Linked DNA regions of Homo sapiens: region 2 is linked to region 1. The links are contacts of gene promoters, found by promoter capture Hi-C in blood cells and fetal thymus (Javierre and others, 2016). All regions are on one chromosome and are shown on one strand. Each heading gives the region's core, a stretch centred on a gene start or on the middle of the fragment in contact. The rest is flanking DNA. Distances are from core to core; before and after follow the strand shown.

Region 1 (4,975 bases), core at 1,030-3,529:
CCTGTATTGGACTGATACCCTCCTGTTGGATTGGGCCATACAGGCTTGCTAGATTCCTGACCCATCACTCTGACTTAGGAGGGTTTCCAATACAGCTGGGGCTCGGGTAGGAGGGCTCCTGCTCCCTGCACACGTTTTTGAGATGGGAAAGTAAAATCAGTTTAGAATAAAGGAGCAGGGAGATTTATTTTCACTTCAGCAGGCAGGTAACAGAAAGAATAAGGGGCCTTTAAAATTAGTTTCACTTTCTTCTAAGGCCTGGAGTAGCATTCCAGTGACTGTCAGGTGTAGACCTGGAACACATTTTTAATGTTGGCAAAATGATTACAAGACTGGGTTTGCAGGAAAGCCAGACTTAGAGGAGAATCTGACGGAAGGTTGGGGGGTGACTGGACGCTTGGAAGGTGGGTGAAGTACTGTGGAATTGTGCAACGTGGGGAAAGGAAAGACTGCTATAGTTTTTTTTATGGGGTGTCTGCATTTTTCTGAGTGCTGCAGACATACAGGAGAAATGCAAATTGGAATAGAGTGGAAAATACAGATCGCCGTGTGTGCACGAGTGCCTATGTGTCTGTCTATCAAGAGGAGAGGGACAGGTGGAAGGGGACCAGTAATCCTGCAACAGAGGGATGTTTACGTTTGTAGGGGGAAAGGGTATGAGTGTTAGAATGAGACCCATTCTGGATGTGGGTATGAAAATGACAGGCATGGGTGGGGTGGCTTTGGAGGAGAGGGGTGCGTGTATGTATGAGGAAAGGGAAGGTGTTTGTGTGTGTAGCTGTATGTGAGGCAGCTGAAACTACAGAAGGATGCCCATGTTTATGCGTATGTCACAGGCAGAGGAGTGTATGGTTGGCAATGGAGAGGAGTGTCTGAGAGTTTGTGTGTGTGTATGTTAGTCAAAATGGGAGGCAACAATGGAGAAATGTCAGTGTGAGCAAATGCAGCAGGCACAAATGGAAGCGGGGGTGGGGGGTGCGCAGCACTGGAGAGGGATGTGCTTGAGGTGGATGGAACAGAGGCAGGCAATCAAAGAATGATGCCTGCCTGTGTGGATATGGCAAGCAGGGAGGCAGGTTGTGTCCCCGTAGAAGGATTTATGTGAGTGCGAGTGTGTGCACCTCAGGGACCAGCAAAAGAGAGCTGTGTCTGACACACGTGGCAGACAGAGCAATAGAGGAGAGCATTTGAGAAGGGGGTATGAATGAGCACATGTGGCTACATATGTATGTCACTGGCCAGCGATAGAAGGATGTCCTTATGTGTGTATATGACAGGAAGGAAGAAGGAGGGCAGCCGGAGGGGGTGTGTGAATAGGCATGTGTTCGCGAGAGCACGCAGAGGCCGAGCAGGGAGGGGGCCGGTGCTAGAGGTGTGTATGTGGTAGGCGGATAGAGGAGGGGGAAGGCATGGGAGGGTGTGAGGGTGTGAGGGTGTGTGAGAGGGTGTGTGCTGCGTGTGCCTGCGCATGCGCGGGGGAGGGGAAGCACTGGAACCTTGAGGATGGAGGGGCAAGGAGGGGGCTGCAATGGAAGGCTTCTGTGCGGGGGCGCGTGCTCGCGACACACGGGGGGTGGGGGGTAGGGGGGACGCAATGTCATAAAAAGAGGTGGGAAAAGGCCATCAGCTCAAACGGGAGACCCCAACCGATGTGGCAGGGGAGAGGGAAAATGAAAGAAAAGGGCGTGCGTGGGTCTAGTTTTCCCTGAGAATAATTATTTTTTCCTTCCAATTTTTTCCCTGGGAACAGTATTTTTACCTAAAAATCTTAACCATTTACCATTTGGCAAAACAACAGCAAAATATGGGAAGAAAGGCCACGGAGTGCTCCGCAAAGGGGCCGAGGAGGGAAGAAGGAAGGAGAGGGGAGGAGAGGCAGGGAGAAGTGGGAGAGGGCCGCGACCACCACTGCCCTCCCAATAGCGATGAAAGCCACTCGAGTGGGGACCGCGCCACACCAAAGGGGTTCCGGCAGCGGAAGATGTGGCCCCAGAACAGGCCGATGGAGGACATGGGCCTCACTCTGCAGTCAGGTCCCGCGTCCGCCCCACCCCTTCCCGAGGGGCGAACCTGAAAAGCAGTTCCCAGGAACCCCCCAAAATCCTCGCCCCCGTGCCCGGCCACTCGCCCCGCGCCCGGCCACTCGCGCCACCGCCAGCGCCCGGATGAATCGAGGAAACAATCAGCCTTTCACTCACCAAGTCCAGAAAGCCACACGCTTTTCAGAGAAGCAGAGCTCTCGGATCTCCGACCGCCACGACCGCCAGAGCCGCTGCTCCCGGTCCCGAGCTCCTCCCCCGCCAGACAGCAGCGGGGCGGGCGGCGACTGCGGCGGCGGAAGTGATTGTGAAGTCAGCTGGAGCCCGCCTCCTTGATGTGGCGGGGGCGGCAGCTGCTCTCCACAAATCAGGGTGGGCCCGAAAGCATTATTTCATCTTAAATGATGAAATCGTCAAGGATACAGAAAAGGACAGCGAAAAATGTCACAAACACCCAGCTTTAACTAATGTTAAACATTTAGCTATATTGCCTTCTGGTTTTTTAATAAATAAAATAAAATCTGCAAATTCTTTCTGATTAAGTCCAATGTGAGAGTAATTACGTTACTACATCACATCCTATGTTACGTGTTATGGTTGTACCGAAAGTATTAAAACTGTGAAACCATATTTAGGGTTGCAGTAAGCTTAAATTTTTTTTAACCTGATGGTTAAAGCAAATTGAAGCTGTTTATGTTGAATTTGTTGCTGCTAATCACAAAACCAAGCTTCTCTGTCCAAGAGATCATAGGACACAACACAGGTTCATATTCTGTTATTGCATTGCAGTTAAAAATATTGTAGTTACGCCTTTTGGATTTATACCATTTTACTGAATTCTGAAGTCTTTAAATTGCGCTTTATAATGGAACTCTAGTATTTACAGCCAATGTAAACATTTCCCATGTTCACAACAGTAGCAAAGTTTTGTTCTTACTGGAAACAAAATGCATAATAGAACAAAAATCTTAGGGGTAACAACATAATAGAAATAAAATGTATAACTTTCAAACCATTAAAGTAATAATATGTGGAACAAAGAGAAAAACTCATTCTTAACAAAGGTCAAGAAATGTTGCTGGGGGGGTACAAAAAAAAGGATGCAAAAAGAAAACAAAAATGCAGGAATCCAAATATATCAGCATGCATTATGGGTTAACATCTCCTAATAAAAACCAAACTCTTATTTTGAGCATTTTGTTTTTAAAAGCTAAGTTATATTCTATTTATGTGAGTTTCACCTAAAGCAGAAATAGGAATAAAAAATATATGAGAGTAAAATACTAGCAGAAAAAAGGGAGAGAGGGAATGAGGGAAGGAAAGAAGCAAAAAAAAAAAAAAGGAAGGAAAGGAAGGAGGAAACAAACTCGTAACAATATCAATATCCTAAACATCGAGAACTCAAAGTAAAAAGAACTAAAGAGAACAAAACAGGTTGCTTTATTCACTGAGAAAGATATGACAAGCTGGTGGTGTGTGCCTGTAGTCCCAACTACTTAGGAGGCTGAAGCAGGAGGATTGTGTGAGCCCAGGAGGTTGAGGCTGAAGTGAGTGAAGATCACGCCACTGCACTCCAGCCTGGACAACCAAGCAAGATGCCATCTCAAAATGATGATGATAATAATAACAATAATAGAACTTCATTGGTGAGAAATCTGAAACTATCAAATTTTTTAATGGAGATACATTTTCATCTAGCAATTCTACTTCTAGTCAATTGCTCTATTGTGTGTTCTATTGAGACACACAAATGGAGAAAGATATGTGAATAGGAGTGTAGCAAGATAATGCAAACAACTTTAATTCTCCTCAACAAATAAATTGTTTAAATTTATTTAAACATGTTGCATGGTGGCTCATGTACAGACATGGTGGTTGACACCTGTAATCGCAGCACTTTGGGAGACCAAGGCAGGAGGATTGCTTGAGCCCAGGAGTTGAGACCAGCCTGGACAATATGGTGAAACCCCATCTCTACAAAAAAAACGTAAAAATTTCCCTGGCGCAATGGTACGTGCCTGTAGTCCCAGCTACTTGGGAGGCTGAGGTGGGAGAATCACTTGAGCCCAGGAGGTTGAGGCTGCAGTGAGCCAAGATTGCGCCACTGTGATCCAGCCTGGGCAATAGTCAGACCCTGTCTCAAAAAAAAAAAAAAAAAAAAGAAAGAAAGAAAGAAGGCAAGTATATATGTATATATGTACTGGTCTAATATAAATATATTAAGTGAAAAAAGCATGTTGCAGAACAGTGCATTTTAAAAAAAAACATATGATAGTCACAAAAATTTATGTGCCAAACAATGTAGTTTCAAAATATATAAAGCAAATACTGTTAGAAATATAAAGAGAGATCAGGAAGTCTGCAATTATAGTGGGAAACTTCACCTCATTTCTTATGGTATAGATAAATCAAATAGACTGCAAAATAAATAACGATATGAGGAAATGGGACAGTACAATATACCGAATGTATATGTATTTTTGTTTTTTTGAGACAGAGTCTTGCTCTGTCATCCAGGCTGGAGTACAGTGGTAAAATCTTGGCTCACTGCAACCTCCACCTCCCGAGTTCAAGCAATCTCCTGCCTCAGCCTCCTGAGTTGCTGGGACTGCAGGTGTGCACCACCACACCCAGCTAGTTTTTGTATTTTTTAGTGGAAATGGGGTTTCACCATGTTGACCAGGCTGGTCTCGAATTCCTGATCTCAAGCAATCCACCTGCATCGGTATCCCAAAGTGCTGGAGTTACAAGCGTGAGCCACTGTGCCCAGCTTGTATATGTATTTTTGGACTCAAGAGAGGATACATTTTCTTTATAAAAATATTTTTAAATATGTCAACTATACAGAAAAGTAGAGTATAAAATACACATTTTAATGCACCTGTCACATGGATTGAGCAAATTTTATTTTCTCCAGATCCTCAGATCCTTCTGTT
Region 2 (4,975 bases), core at 2,066-4,565, 5.4 Mb before region 1:
ACTGGACTGCTTCCTGAGCCTTCTCTCCCCTCTATGTTCTTCCCCTTCTAGTTTTTCCTCTTTGTACTTTCGTGCTAGAGCAAAGTACAATAAACTAAATACTCTATGGAGCTAGATCCACCTAAGACAGAAGGAGACACTCTGAGCAGATACTGGAGAAGCTAAACCTTCATCAAGGATTCTTGGAAAGCCAGAGACTCAGTTGGCCTAGAACAAGTTGCAGAGCTGGAAATAAGAGCTAGAGAGTCCAAGATTCCCCTCCTCCATCCCATTTCTTGGGGCAAAGCCACTGGAGCAAGATCCAGATGCCTTGTAGGAGGTCTTCTGAGGAGGCAGTTATTTTGGGAGAAAAGGCTCAATTCTTATATCCCTGCCCAGAGCAAGCACTCTGCAGGTCAAGGGACCAGAAACTGAGATGGCAGACAAAGGCTAAAGAGGAAGACATGCTTTGTTACCATCCTTCAAACCACCAGACTGTGCCCTCTGGTTGCTCTCAATCTGGGCCTTACCTCAAGGGCAGAAGAGCACCTCACCTACAGCCTTTTTGGGATCTTTCAGCTCCCTAGTAGCTGAATCACACACACACCGGTGGGTGAGAGTCTCTGAGCCAGGGTCCAAGCCCTGTTTACCAGCTCCATTATCAAACTTGCTCTTTCAACTTGTCCAGCCTCCCCCGTCAGAAACTACTACACCAAAACCACAGAAAGAAAAATTCCCAAATTCTATAAAGCTAGGCTGATCAGGATTCCCCAAGCCACAGACAAAATTGGGGCACACTGCACAAGCACACTGCAGGTTCTGACAGATGGAGGCTGTCTCAATGGAAGAAGAATGCTGTTCAGTTTGTTCCCACCAAGATATCACTTCACCCCCTCCCTGATGCAGCCAAAAGTTAGGGTGAAAAAAATTGTTTTTTCAGGACCGGCAGAGCTTCTGGCACTAAAGCTAGGCAGTAAAATGGCACAGTTAATCTTAAGGAGATGGGACTGACTAGAAAGGAATTTGAAACCAGGAGTTTTCTAATAAATAATCTCATAGCTGGACGAGGCTAGGCTCTACATGTCTGCTGTGGACATGTTTCCGAGGCATTTGCAGGAAATTGGGATTCTGTTCTTTCTTTGTTCCCTCCCCAAAAGCATCTCTCCAAGTCCCACTAGGCTCTAGTCCCCTTTTTCTAGAGTTATTGGTGCCTGGGCCTTTAAAGGGTGGGCTCTGGAGCTCAGTGGGTGCTCAGTGATACAGGGGTTGCTAGGATACCAGTAGAGGGCATTTTCTTTAATTCTTTGATGGGGATCCAGGAGCGAAAATCCCTAAGCTGGGATTTTGCCCCTCCTACATGGCAAAAGCTTATCCTCTACTCAAAGGGGCCAGAGAGGAGGGAAGGGAATGGAGGAGCTTTATTGGGAAAAGTTGGGACAAATCAGAGAGGAAAAGTCCTCTTCTCTTTTTTACTTCTCACCCATTTACAGTGGGGAGGTGGGAGGAGGAGGTGGTGTCAGGGGTGGGAAGAAAGGAAGAAGGAGAAAGATTAAGAGAGAAGGCAGAGGAGGAAGGAAAAAAGAAGACAAGTCAAAATGCATAGGGTTCCGCTTCTCTGGGCTGCATTTCTCATTTTCTCCCACTCTTTTCTCTTTTTGCTAGAGAAAAATATCCTCACAAGTCTGAAGCAGAAATGCCAAACCTTTAGGATTCACACAAGTAAAAAGTCACACTGCTACCTTTTGTTCTCTACTCTCAAATTCCCTTCTGGTTGCTAGATGGTGGCCTGCCATCTGGCTAGCAACATCCCTTTATTTGCCTGGAGACAATTTTAAAAGCGCTAACCCATTTCAACAGCTAAATTACTAATGGAAGGGCTCATTCAAGACACCTCCTTAGCCTGAGGGGTTTTAGGTGGTGAAAAGAGGAATGGCATGGGTGATACCCATCCATCCCAGCATTTGTGAAATCCTTATAGGTCCTAGCACAAGGAGGCTATTCAGAACTGTGGAACTCAATACTGTCTTTCTTCATTCCTACCACCACACCCCGCATCCACACTCAGGAGTGTGCTCCCCCCCACACACCCCCATGAACATACTGCCACACACCCTACACACACACATACATTCCCAGAGGCTTTCTGCCAAAGGTCTGTCAGGCTCACAGAGGAGAAGGCATTTCGTGACACTATTTAAGTCATAAACCTAGATCAAAGACTAGTCTCAGAGACCCCTTCTCCCCTTGGGGGAAAAAAAGTCAAAAAGCATTCCCTTATTGCTGTCCCAGTTTCCTTCCCAAATAACTAGGCAAAAAAAACCCCTTCGCTTAAACTTGTTATCCAGGCTGTAGTACCAGATATCCTTCCCCTCCTCCCATCACCCTTTGATTAACATTTTCTTTTCCTTTTCACTTGTCTTTCCAGCTCATCCCCCCCACCCCCCACAACTTCAAGTGTCTAGGGGTCATAAAATCATAAAATGCAAGAACTTGGAAGTCACCTAGTGGAGCCATCAAAAAATGCCAATGTTACTGGGAATCCCAAACCCACCGAGGAGGAAAAAAATTGTCCAAGGTCAAACAGCTGCTGAATGGAAAAAACAAAAAACAAAACAAAACAAAACAAAAAAACAGGTCTGCAGCTGCCCAGCATAGAGCCATTCCCCACTCTCCAACACTGTATCAAAACAAAGTGCCCAGAAAAGATATAAGCTTACTTTAAATAATACAATGAAGCTAAGGGGGGAAAAAAACTCACTAAATTATCTTTGCAAAGAAATAGGTTCTCAGTTCCATCCAGGGGGTCTCCACAAACGGACCAAAGAGTAATTAATAAGAACCAATGCCAGCAAACCTCCCAGATCATGTTTACACCATGGTACTAATCTCACAAAAACCTCAGCTTCTCACCCACACCAAGTCAAGGATAGCATGCTTTGAGGCCCAAAACACCCTCTGACGCCATTAAATAATACTCTCTGGGTCCTGTGGCCAAGACAATTTCAAAGGCCCCCTTCACAGCCCCTCTCCTTTCATAATCATTTCCAAAGAGACTGAACAACCGGACATGGAACTTGACAGCATAATGCCAGCAGATTTGCACATCAGACATGAACAGCCACCCACATGGGTGGAGGGGGAGCATGTGTGTAGATGTGTATGTGTCCTGATTCACTGCTATAATACATGAGCCATAAATGGCATTATTTCAAGCCAGGTAAGCAATGGAATGGGGAAAGCCTGCCTACATTAACAGGGGAGAAAGAAAATCAAAACGCAAAAAAACAAGTATTATACAGACTGGCATGAGACATTTTTTTTCCTGGCTCTGCCAAGAGCTTTCTCAGAGGAAACAGAAATATAAAAATAATAGCAATAGCAATAACAACAGAAACCACCACCACCATCTGATACAGACAAGCAGTCATATCTCAAACTGGAATGTTGCTTCCAGCTCATGTTTTCCATGCTCTCATCCCTTTCCTTCTAGACGTTTTTGGGTTTTGGTGGTCAAATTTAGCACCAAAATTTGATAACTCTTAATTTAGCACATTACAGACTTTCAGTTTGTTATGGGAATGTTTCAATTACAGAGACCTCTGATCTTAAAGTAACAAACGGGAGCAAACAATAGCATCACCACTTTCTCATCAGCCTTATCAAGTTACATTTAAAATGTAGTTCAAGAACATCATTGCAAACGAGATTATCCCAAAGGAGCCATATCCAAATACTATTATTCCCAAGGTGGATAAAGAGCTGTTTTTTCTTTCTTGTGGGGTTTTTTTTTTTTTTTGATGAGACAAACAAAATCCCCAAACTCAAATCCAGGGGTACAATCTTTGGGAAAGGGAGCCCAAATAGCTCCTGTCAAAGTCCTCTCTTGCCAGTTCAAAAAATCAGAGAATGCTTTCACATACTATTTCATGATTCCAAGGAAATTGACATTTTAAATATCTTAAAGCTTTAAGGTTCAAGAAGTGTTTTAAATGTGGCTTCTTTCAAAATTGAAAATTGTGAACCCTGGAGAGCAAATTGAGATTCAAAGGACACAGTCACCAACTGCCAGCACAACACACCCGTGTCACTTCCCAAATTCTTGCTTCTCCTTAGACACTAAAGAAGCATTTTCCCTAAATCCATTCCTTGCATCGATTATTTTCCCTCTAAATATCCACTGCAAAGACTGTCTTTCCTATGATGTCAAATATTCATCATGCTCTTCCACAAACCCTTTTCCCCTCAAACAAACCCAAATGCACTCCTGATGGCAAGAGAGAAATTTTGACTAAAATTCCCTGATGGAGTTTAAAGGTAGTCTTCAAGGAAATGAGTTAAGACACCACAGACAGCAAAGCCACTGTTTAAGGACGCAGAGCTTGCTCCATGAACGCCACATAGATTAAAAATGCACACACGCATGCACACTTAAATAGAAAGCATTTCTTCATCAACAATTTCACTCAAGCAATAGGCAACTATACGCGCAGGCATTCTTAAAAGACAAGACACGACAAAAGATTTAGGGAGAGATAATATACCAACGTCATACATATCACAGCGAGGCCATGTTGAAGCTCAAAACGTTTTCCCCCCTGAGTAAGAAAGCTTGTTCTTTCTCTCTCTTTCCCTGTCTCTGTCTGTGATTTTTTTTTTTTCTCGGTGGCTCTCGGGATGAAATCAAAGCGAGAGTTCGCGACAGCTCAGGTGGCTGGACTCCATTCAGCGCGTTCCCAGGAAAAACATGAGTATGACATTGACAAGCAGGAGGACTACAATCACGGCAAAAACGACTACAGTTTGCACATCCAGGGTCATGGTGCAATGCAGAACACTGTAGTGTTCCAGGTGGGGGGCCGGCAGATTGGGAGATGTCAGTCTCTGTTCTGTCAGACTGTCCATACAGCCACCATGCTAGAAAGGAGAGGAGGAAGTAGGGTGGTTAGAGAAGGGCTGGGTTTGGCGCCCGAGTTTAGTCGGGGGAGGGGAGGGGGAT

What was found. The method cuts DNA at HindIII sites, captures the fragments that hold promoters and counts their contacts. A CHiCAGO score of 5 or more calls a contact.
Region 2: a contact is called between a fragment that was not itself captured here and the fragment with the promoter of PJA1 in region 1, in 1 of 17 cell types (total CD8 T cells). The highest score is 5.5, in total CD8 T cells.

Annotation. Positions count from the first base shown.
Region 1 is chrX:69,163,174-69,168,148 of GRCh38, forward strand. It overlaps PJA1 (praja ring finger ubiquitin ligase 1), which reads right to left and starts at 2,280. Exons shown (of 2, transcript NM_001032396.4): 1 at 2,199-2,280. The HindIII fragment of the contact is 4,972 bases long and covers 1-2,684 here.
Region 2 is chrX:63,749,784-63,754,758 of GRCh38, forward strand. The region is part of intron 1 of ARHGEF9 (Cdc42 guanine nucleotide exchange factor 9); the gene reads right to left. It overlaps LOC128031833, which reads right to left and starts at 4,881. Exons shown (of 1, transcript NM_001414729.1): 1 at 4,702-4,881. The coding sequence starts at 4,881. The coding sequence ends at 4,702. The HindIII fragment of the contact is 1,252 bases long and covers 2,690-3,941 here.